3 separate regions of the Homo sapiens genome follow, and all the other regions are linked to region 3. Evidence: promoter capture Hi-C in 16 types of primary human blood cells and fetal thymus (Javierre and others, 2016). All regions are on one chromosome and are shown on one strand. The core of a region is centred on a gene start or on the middle of the fragment in contact, and the rest is flanking DNA. Distances in the headings are between cores, read along the strand shown.

The links. Contacts are between HindIII fragments. The CHiCAGO score rates a contact against its expected background, and 5 or more counts as called.
Region 1: a contact is called between a fragment that was not itself captured here and the fragment with the promoter of LYPLA1 in region 3, in 1 of 17 cell types (non-activated CD4 T cells). The highest score is 6.1, in non-activated CD4 T cells.
Region 2: a fragment that was not itself captured here is called in contact with the fragment with the promoter of LYPLA1 in region 3 in 2 of 17 cell types (M2 macrophages and M0 macrophages); the score reaches 5.5 in M2 macrophages.

The regions. Positions count from the first base shown.
Region 1 is chr8:53,776,408-53,779,940 of GRCh38, reverse strand. All of the region lies in intron 9 of ATP6V1H (ATPase H+ transporting V1 subunit H), which reads left to right. Among named protein-coding and RNA genes, the nearest start is that of ATP6V1H, 65 kb to the left of the region's middle. The HindIII fragment of the contact is 1,595 bases long and covers 588-2,182 here.
Region 2 is chr8:53,809,031-53,812,413 of GRCh38, reverse strand. It overlaps ATP6V1H (ATPase H+ transporting V1 subunit H), which reads left to right. Exons shown (of 14, transcript NM_015941.4): 7 at 1,197-1,250. Among named protein-coding and RNA genes, the nearest start is that of ATP6V1H, 33 kb to the left of the region's middle. The HindIII fragment of the contact is 1,924 bases long and covers 819-2,742 here.
Region 3 is chr8:54,100,282-54,103,676 of GRCh38, reverse strand. LYPLA1 (lysophospholipase 1) reads left to right here and starts at 1,730. Exons shown (of 9, transcript NM_006330.4): 1 at 1,730-1,922; 2 at 2,738-2,769. The coding sequence starts at 1,854. LYPLA1-TCEA1 (LYPLA1-TCEA1 readthrough) reads left to right here and starts at 1,730. Exons shown (of 21, transcript NM_001425842.1): 1 at 1,730-1,922; 2 at 2,738-2,769. RefSeq lists a silencer at 1,607-2,176. The HindIII fragment of the contact is 1,923 bases long and covers 472-2,394 here.

The sequences.
Region 1 (3,533 bases), core at 136-2,635, 320 kb after region 3:
GTGATCCGCCTGCCTTGGCCTCCCAAAGTGCTGGAATTATAGGTGTGAGCCATCAAGTCCAGCCGACAATATCTTAAAGATGGAGTTTAATTCTCTGGTCAACAAATACATGTAATGAAATTAACAAAACCATATAAACAAAAGAGCTTTGATATGTTTCTAAAGTTAGAGGAGAGGATAGGTAATAGGAAAAGTAACTGGGAAAGACCATCGAAAGTTTAGTAGAGAAATAAGTGAAATCTCACAAAAGGAAAGGAAGAGGGGAAGAGTTTTATAAGTAAGAGGTTAACAGATTTACACCTCCCCTCTCAGAAAATAATTTGTTTAGAAAGAAATAACAGGTGTTCTGAAACAGAATAGTTTGTAGAAGTAGTTATACAAGGAACTGGGGGTTAAGAGAAGAATTATAAATAATCTGTGATATCTAGTATGTCCTATTTACTAGGATCTCACACTTTAGTAAAGGAGACAAGCATGTAATAATATTAGTGTCATATATCATGATTTCTTCTTTGACTATGGATTACATAGGAGTGCATTGTTAAATTTCCAAATAGAAATTAGAAAGTTACTGGTCTTTTTAAGCTTAATTCCATTACGGTTAAGAACATATTCTGTAAGATTTCAATCCTTTGAAATTTGGGACTCATTTTATGGCTTGTCTTATAGTCTGTCATAGTGGATGTACCAAGTGCACTTAAAAGAATGCATATTTTGCCAGTGGAGTTGTGTTCTGTGTCATTTAGGTCAGGGTGGTTGACAGTGTTATTTAGATCTTCTATGTACTGATTTTTTTGTTTAGTGGTTCTATCAATTGCTGAGAGAGCTGTTAAAATCTCTAGCTATTATTGTGGATTTGTCTATTTCTTCCTGCAGTTTTGTCAATTTTTGTTTCATGAATTTTGAAGCTCTGTAATTAAAACACAATGAATGCTACATTTTCCTGATGAACTGGACTTTGTATCATTGTGAAATATCCTTCTTTATCACTGGTAATGCTCTTTGTTTACTTTATTTGAAGTTAATATCACTCCAGCATTCTTACGCTTATGGTTGCATGCTATATCTTTTTCCTTCTTAGTTTCAACTTACCTGTGTCATATTTAGTTTGTCTCTTTTAGGCAACACATCCTTGGGTCTTAAACTTTTATCTATTCAAATAATTTCTGCCTCTTAACTGGAGTATCTAGTTCACTGGCATTTACAATAACTATTGATATGATTGGATTTAGGCCTACCATTTTACTCTTTGTTTTCTGTTTGCTTATCTGTTTTTTGTTCTTCTATCTTCCATTTTTGCTTTCTCTTGGGTTAAGTGCATCCTTTAAAAAATTTCATTTTACTTAACATAATGACCTCCAGTTCTGTCCATGTTGCTGCAGATGACAGGATTTCATTCTTTTCTATGGCTGAATAGTCTTCGGTTGTCAGAGGCTGAGAAGGGTACCAGGGTAGGAGGGGATGAAGTGAGATTGGTTAATGGGTACAAAAATACAGTTATATAGAAGAAATAAGACCTAATGTTGTACAATTCAGTAGGTTGATAGTAAACAGTAATCTACTGTATATTTCAGAATAGCTAGAAGATAATAATTCAAATGTTCCCAACATAAAGAAAAGATAAATGTTTAAAGTGGTGGGCATCCCAATTACCTTGATTTGATAATTATAGATTATATATGATTGTATCAAAATGTCACATGTACTCCCCAAATAGGTCCATCTGTTATATATTAATAAATTTTTAAAAACTATCATAACATTTCTTTGGGGTCTTTAACTATTTGTTTTTGCACTATTTTATTTCTTAGAGGTGATTTTGGAGTCACAATACACATCCTTTCTATTGTACTACCTTATGTAAAATGTAAGCACTTGTAGTCTTTTATGCTACAGTTGTCATGTTACTGTATTTACATGTTATAAGCCCTACAATACAGGGTTTTGTGCTTTAAGCAGTCTCATGTATATTATGGAAGTAAAGAGGGAAAAACAGTGTTTTATATTTATCCAGGTATATATTAATATGATATCTACAGTTCTTTTTTCTTTTCTGGACACTCAGCTTTCCACTTGTGGTATCACTTTCCTTTAGCTGCAGAATTTTCTTTAGCCCAGGGATCAGCAAACTTTGGAAGCCTATGGGCCAAATGTGGTCCACCTGTTTTTAATCAATAAAGCTTTATTGGAACACTGCTTTGCTCATTTGTTTATGGTTTTTAATGACTGCTTTTGCACCGTAGTAGTAGAATTGTGCAGTTGTGACAGAGACTGCAAAGCCTAAAATATTTACTCTTCGCCCTTTTACAGAAAATGTTAGCCAATCCCTGCTTTCGGATATCTTCCAGTGTATGTCTGCTGGTGACTGATTATCTCAGGTTATTATAAAAAATGATTTTAGTTTACCTTTATTCTGGAAGGATATTTTTGCTGGATATAGTTCTGTTTTTTTTTTCTTTCGGTACTTTCAAGATATCGTTCCACTTCTGACCTCTCTCCTTTATTTTTCTCTCTCTTTTTTTAATGCTCTCTCTCAGCAAAATCATCTCCATCGTTTCTGATGAGAAGTCAGCTTTCCTTTGTATTTTTGTTCCCCTGTATATAATGTGTTATCTTTTTCTGGTTGCTTTGAAAATTTTACTATATTTGGTTTTCTGAAGATTGACTTTGATGTGTCTGGATTTAGTTTTATTTGTATCTACATTTCCTAGTATTTACTGAAGTTACAGATTTGTAGAGTTGCATCTTTTGCTAAAGATGGAAAATTTTGGCCATTATATTTTCAGGTATACATTTGCACCTTTTTACTTATCCTTGCCTTCTGGCATTCTAATTCCACTTATGTTAGACCTTTTGATATTGCACTGCAAGTCACTGAGCCTTTGTTCACTTTGTTTGTGGGAGGGAAGAAACAGTATTTTTTTGTATCTGTCTCTGAAATTGAATAATTTCTGTTGCTCTGTCTTCATGTTCACTGACTCCTTTGTCATCTCCAGTCCACTTTTGAGCTCATTTGTAAATTTTAAAATTTCAAATGATCTGTGTTTTTATTTCTAGGATTTCCATTTGGGAATTTAGTTTCTGTGTCTCCACTGAACTTTCTTTTTTTGCTTTTTTATTGGTACCGTTTTTTTCTTTGGTCATAGTCGTAATGTTTACTTTAAATCTTTTTCTGCAAACTCCAACATCTAATTCATCTCAGGGTTGGTATTTCTTGACTGACTTTTCTCTTGAGTGTTGGTCACATTTTCCTGTTTCTTCATAGGCTTATTAATTTGGGAGTGTATTCTGAATGTTGTAAATGATACATCCTAGAACTGGCTTCTGTTATGTTTCTCCATAGGACATTGAGGTTGTTTAGCAGGCAGTTAACTTGGCTGGGCTCCAGCTCCAAGCTCTCTCTTCCTGTGGGGAGAAGCAGCTTAAATCTTTTTTCAGTTCTTTTAGATGTAGCTGGGCTGCTGGGAGTCTGTCCTTGTGAGAGGTGACAGCGTGCTGGCAGTCCTCACAGCCCTCGCTTGCTTTCAGCGCCT
Region 2 (3,383 bases), core at 531-3,030, 290 kb after region 3:
TTCAATGTCTAGAATAGTTTTCATTAGAATTGAACTTTTTATAGATAAATGCTCTTCAAGTATTTTCTGCATCTTTTTAGTGCACTCTTTTTTATCACAGAGTGTTTGGCTTTAAGTTGTGGACTTTAAATTGTGCAGTGCCTCTGCTTTGCGGGTCCTTCTGCTGCAGGGGAACTCTTCAGGGTACCCAGGCTTAGCCTGGCCTTGCTTCTTAGTCTGGCTACTGCTTCTGCTTGGCTCTCATTGCACTGTCCCTCTTGCTGTGGGCAGGCACTTCTTCATAGCCTTCTATCATGATTAAAATTCAGACTCTTCGTTTTAAAAAGTAACAATTATTTGTGATATTACTTGCTACTTTGCTCAATTGTCATGCGATAGTGCTACATCTAGAGTGTCTCTTTTTTCTCTGTCACAAGTGTTTTTCTCTCTCACAAAAAGTACCACAATTTCATGATTCTAATAGAAATAAACTTTCAAAAGTCCAAGTTAGCTGCAAGTTTAGATGTTTTGTTCTTTGACCTTATAGTGGCCTTTGAAGCCTTTTTGGGTAGTTTGGAGCGTTGCACTTGGGTTGTGGGGACTCATGCCTGTACTTCATAGATAGTAGTTATTGAATGATACAAAGTTAACATTTCCTTTCAGAAATTCATTATTGCTTTTCTCTTGCACTTTCAGCCTCTGACTTTCTTTAAATTTTCTTTGGTCATTTCTATATGACATTTGAGATTTTGATTGTCATTATAATTCATTAGCTTTGCTGTGGATAACCAAGTCACATATTGTACCTTCCTGACATCAGGCACCTATTTTTGAAAGCTTTGCTACAGAATATAGTGTGGATAGTTCAATTTAAGGCAGTCATTTTACTGGAAAAACAATTCAGTAAGTAAATCTTAAGACTTGGAAATTTGCACTAGCTTTACCCATGAAATTTACCTGGAGCTTAGTAGTCAGTTTATTATTGTTCCATTTTTAGCTACTTACTGATTAATATATTATCTGGAAGAATGTAACGATATTTAGAACATTTTATGTCATCCCCTTGCTTTTTATTTAGTAGGATTAGGAATAAAATTATAGGGGAAAAATTATTACATAGAATTAGGGGAAAAGTTTGCTTAGCTCCCTTTTGTAAGCTGATACATTAGGATAAAATCAAAACAAAACTAAATAATGAGTTATTTATTTCGTAATAGAAACTGCGTGGTAGCGGTGTTGCTGTTGAAACAGGAACAGTCTCTTCAAGTGATGTAAGTATATTCCTTCACTGGCCTAAACATCCCCAAAATAAATTATTTTGAGTCATATACACTTAAAATTTTGAAGGTGTTTACTAGTTCCCCAACTATAAATCCATGGTCACCTCCAGTTAGGTTAATTGTATTATAAACTATATATAAATATTGATGGTCTGTGGAGATCATCTTTTCTGTGGTAGACATAAGACTTGTTCTTTCCCGTTGCTCTTTTTTCCAGGTGACTTTTGTTTCAGACCTGAGAAACAAAGCAAAAATCAGAATTCAGAAGCACAACTGGAGCAAATAATCATAAAGTTTTCTCTTTAAACTTCAGTTATCTGATTAAACTGTCTAATATCTGTCTAATCAAAAGGTGAACAAAAGCGTCAAACATTTGAAAGAAATTCAGTTACTTTTATTTATTTATTTATTTTTTGAGACACAGTCTAGCTCTATCCCCCAGGCTGGAGTGCAGTGGCACAATCTCAGCTCACTGCAACCTCTGCCTCCCAGGTTCAATTAATTCTCCTGCCTCAGCCTCCCGAGTAGCTGGGACTACAAGCGCCCGCCACCACACCCAGCTAATTTTTGTATTTTTAGTAGAGATGAGGTTTCACCAAGTTGGCCAGAATGGTGTCGATCTCTTGACCTCGTGATCCGCCTGCCTTGGCCTCCCAAAGTGCTGGGATTACAGGCATGAGCCACCACGCCAGGCCTTCTTTCCACATTTTTGTAGAGCCAAAAGGCTCTACATAAATACATAAATAATCTACATAATTAAGATTAATTATGGCTCCCCAAGTTCCTTTCTTGGCTAAAGTTACGTTTTCCATTTGGGAATGGCTGAACTTTGCTGTGCTCTAGGAATAGCTCAGGAACTGGAAGTAAGTTTGGACAAGTTAACGATGTTCATGATGAGAGCCAGTTGATAGAAAGTTAGGGAAAACGGAGACAGAAACAGAAGTGTGTCTAGCTTCCTTTGTTGAAAGTATCACTAGGAAACTAGGAAGTATCTTTAGAGGGTAGTTTCTGTAACCTGCCTGCAATAGACCCAAGTGAAGCTCTGTAGGAGCCATTTAATATCCATATTGGTTGCTGGTACTCCCATAATCTGAATGAATGTCACGGGTATGTATGTTCCAAGACCATAGATGGCAGCAAAATCCATTTTGAAGCTGGGCTTCTCTTGGAGCATGGGTTGAAGTGTTTGATGACTCATATGTTAGGCCAGAAAATGGCTATTAGCCTTCTGAAGTGGAATCAGAACAAGGTATAGAACTAGATACGCGATCCTGGGGCCATGGTGGGCTGAGGAAATGGTAGGTAAGAAGCCTCGTTTCTCAATCAGAAGCAGATGTTTACATTGAGAATCTTTATTTTGCTTAAATTGAGAGTCTTCATTTCATGTGTCTTGAATTTCTACCAGTTTGAAAAATTATTTAGCTTATTTTAGACTTACAAACTTATTTAAGTGGTTGTCAAAGTATTTTAAGTTATTAAAGCTTAAATAAGGAAATGCAAACTCTGCTGACATGACATCCTTATTTTGCTATTTTCTGTGCAGTGTATTAGAAAAACAAAATTAACTGAATTGGTGGTGTGTTGGTCTAAGTGATTTACCTGGTAGATTCATATACATCCCAAATGGAATTCACATCAGGAGTGATTGTGAGTTAGGAAAAGATGGCCTTTGGTTTCCTACCTTCTTCCCTTTAGTGACTCTCAACCCTGAACATATTTTTGGACTCTTCCTGAAGTTCTTACTTTTTTAGATGGCTGTCTACTTGAAAAGCAGACCTCCATGTGTTGAGAGTAGGGTGTCAGCCCTTCCTTTGATTCTTATATTTCCATAGGGGAATCTTAATATAGCAGCTAATATTCATTGAGCACTTAACTATGTGCCTGACGCTTACTCATTTTACATTTACATCTCCTTGAATATTTACACTCCCTGTTCAATGTAGGTCATATCATTAGCCGCATTTTATGGATGAGTAGTGAGACCAAACAGAAAAACATACCAACATGCCCGAGGTCACACAGAGACTCTGAAGAAATGGATTGCTTAGAGAATTACTTGTGAGGCAGCTGAGTTGGAATTGCATCTTTAGGCATTCCTCAAGTTGCATTGCTTACTCAGACTTT
Region 3 (3,395 bases), core at 481-2,980:
CTCCGCCTCCTGGGTTCATGCCATTCTCCTGCCTTAGCCTCCCGAGTAGCTGGGACTACAGGCAACCACCACCACACCCAGCTAATTTTTTTTTTTTTTTGTATTGTTAGTAGAGACGGGTTTTCACCGTGTGAGCCAGGATGGTCTCAATCTCCTGACCTCGTGATCCGCCCACCTCGGCCTCCCAAAGTGCTGGGATTACAGGTTTGAGCCACTGCGCCCGGCCTCCAGTATGTCCTTCACTGAATTGTAAACTTCTGAAGGTCAGGGCATTTTGGCTTTAAGTGTTTCTATCTTGTGCTCTCTTCCAGATCTTACCATGTAGTTGATATGCAACACATTTGTTGAGTAACTACATTTTAGGCCATAAAGGCACCTGTGCAGAAAAGGGCAGTCTAGTCTCATGCTTATGTGTCCAGAGTTGGTTCCTTCCGGTGGGTTCATGGTCTCGCTGACTTCAAGAATAAAGCTTGTCACCTTCGTGGTGAGTGTTACAGTTTTTTTTTTTTTTTTTTTTTTTTTTTGAGACAAGGTCTCTCTCTGTCTCCCAGGCTGGAGTGCAGTGACGCGATCTCAGGTCACTACAAGCTCTGCCTCTCAGGTTCACGCCATTCCCCTGCCTCAGCCTCCCAAGTAGCTTGGACTACACGACCGGCCAATTTTTTTTTTTTGTATTTTTAGTAGAGACGAGGTCTCACCGTGTTAAGGCAGGATGGTCTCGATCACCTGACCTCCTGATCCACCCGCCTCGGCCTCCCAAAGTGCTGGGAGTGTTACAGCTCTTAAAGGTCCCACAGACCCAAAGAGTGAGCAGCAGCAGCAAGATTTATTGTGAAGAGTGAAAGAACAAACTTTCCACAGTGTGGAAGGGGACCCAGGGCTGCCACTGCCAGCTAGGGGATGGGGGGCGTGGCCAGCTTTTATTTCCTTATTTGTCCCGGCCCAAGTCCTGCGGATTGGTCCACTTTACAGAACACTGATTAGCCCGTTTTACAGGGTACTGATTGGTGCATTTTACAAACCTCTAGCTAGCCACAAAGTGCTGATTGGTGCATTTTACAATCCTAGCTACAGAGTGCTGTTGGTACATTTTACAATCCTCTTGTAAGACAGAAAAGTTCTCCAAGTCCCCAACCGACCCAGAAGACCAGCTGGCTTTACCTCTCACTTAAACCTGTACTGTGTCAATATCCGTACATCAGTAAGTGTTGTCGATCAAGTTAGGGAAGTAGTGGATTTCTGGTGACAAATGTTACCCTTTCCAACTAAAGTTTAAAGAAGGTAAGTTGAACCCAAATCTACATACTGCTGTAGCCCCAAACGGAAATACTGCAAAAGCTCCATCAACGTCTCCCAGTCCATCCAGACTTTTACAAATGGATAGACCCCGGCCGCAGGAAACCAAGGAGCACCTGGGGTTGGGTTGGGTGAATTGGCTCTGGGGCTCATTCTTTTCACTACAGCGCCAGAAAAGCAAAAACCTAAACCAAGACCCAAGAGACCAGCCCTCAGCCTGCACCTGAGAGCACATTTTCCCTAGCCAGCACTGAGCATGCGCAGGCTGCGTGGTGTGGCGAAAGCGCAGCCAGGTCCGCGCTGCCGCCGCAGCCAATCGGAGGGAGGGAGCCGCCCGGACATTGTGAGGTGCCGAGGGAGGGGCGGCGGGCGAGGGGCAGGGCAGGGCGGACCCTGGACGCGCGGGCGCGCGCGGAAGGTAGCGCGGGGCCGCGTTGGCGCGCACGCGCCTGAGCGTGCGCCCGGTGGGGCCGGCCGGGACTCGCCGCTCGCACGCCCTTGGGCCGCGGCCGGGCGCCCGCTCTTCCTTCCGCTTGCGCTGTGAGCTGAGGCGGTGTATGTGCGGCAATAACATGTCAACCCCGCTGCCCGCCATCGTGCCCGCCGCCCGGAAGGCCACCGCTGCGGTGAGTGGCGTAGGCGTGGGCTCGGAGGGGTCCACTGGGCCGGCCACCGGTGGTTGCCCCTCGCGCGGGGTGGGCGTTGCGGGCGCGTGGCGGCCTGCGGACGAGGACGCTCCTCCCGGCCCGGGTGGGGTGCGAATGGTCCGCGCGGCCGGGTCCGCGGGGGGCGGGGGCAGCCGGGGGGTCACAGCCGGCGCGAGGGCCAGTCCCCAGCTCCTCCCTGCATTGCGGAGGAAGTGTGGCCCCGGGACCCCCGCGGGCCGGCCTAGGGCACGGCGTCAGCCTCTGCAGCGTGTTTCTGCCTGGTGTGTGGGTGAGGGAAACCTAAGTCCGCCAGGAAATCGCCTTATTGTCACCTCGCACTCTTATCCTCAATGAAAGAAGTTTGAAGATTGAGTGTCCTACAAGGTCAGACGTACTGTTTTTTAGAAAACTCGTGTATGAAAAGTCAAACTTATTTTTGCCTCCGGAAGCTTGCTTTTGCAGTGGAAAAATTCTACAGGATATGTGAGATGTTCCTGATTTCACTTGAAAGAGATAAACTGTTTTTCTTAGAATGTGATCATTTGCACTCAATGTCTAACTGGGACCTCTCAGTGCTACCCCCCCCCCATTCATTATCTCAGGAAATAAAGGGAGAAGTTGATCAGAATTTTTGCCATTTAAAAGAGGTCGATAAAGATTAAGTCGCCGAAGATAGTGTTGTGTAATTCTCTCGTAGGTTTCGTTCCGTTTTCCACCTTAAGCAAAGCTAGTGTGTAACAATCCTGTGTGGGCTTATTTAGGCATTGCTTATTAATTTTCCTCTTCTCTTATAGGTGATTTTCCTGCATGGATTGGGAGATACTGGGTAGGTACCATTATTATTAATAGTAACAGTAATGAAACTGGGTCATGCAACTTTTGTTTACGCGTTCAAAGGTTTAATGTTTAAGGGCGCTAAAATGGTATTTTAAGATTGCCAGTTAATGTATCTTACAGTGCGGTGATTTTATGTTTTGAAAACCCTCAGAATTTTCCCCTTATCATCGTGAGTTTATTGATTTTTTAACTCTGGTTTCTGGAACATATTAAAATTTCAAATTCCTCATTAGTTGCTTTGGGTATTGGATACCAGAGATCCGTGGAATGTTAGTAGGGACGGTGTGCAATTGAGAGCTTTCCAGAGCAGTTAAAATTTCAGAGCAGATTGAAGAGAAGAACTAGTTGATTTTGATAAGAGAACTAGTGGCAACATAAGGCATGCAGCATTCTGAATAGAGGGATTAGATGTTCACTCTAATGAGTTGAAAGGCAGGGGAGGCAACTCAAAGATTTATTTGGAGGCTTATCAAACAATTTGTTGTACTAACTACTTATTTTTATTTTATTTTTTGTTTGTTTGCTTTTTTCTTTTGTTATTATTTTTAGAGACAAGGGCTCTCTCTGTCGCCCAGGCTGGAGTGCAGTTGCAGGATCTTAGCTCACTGCAGCTTT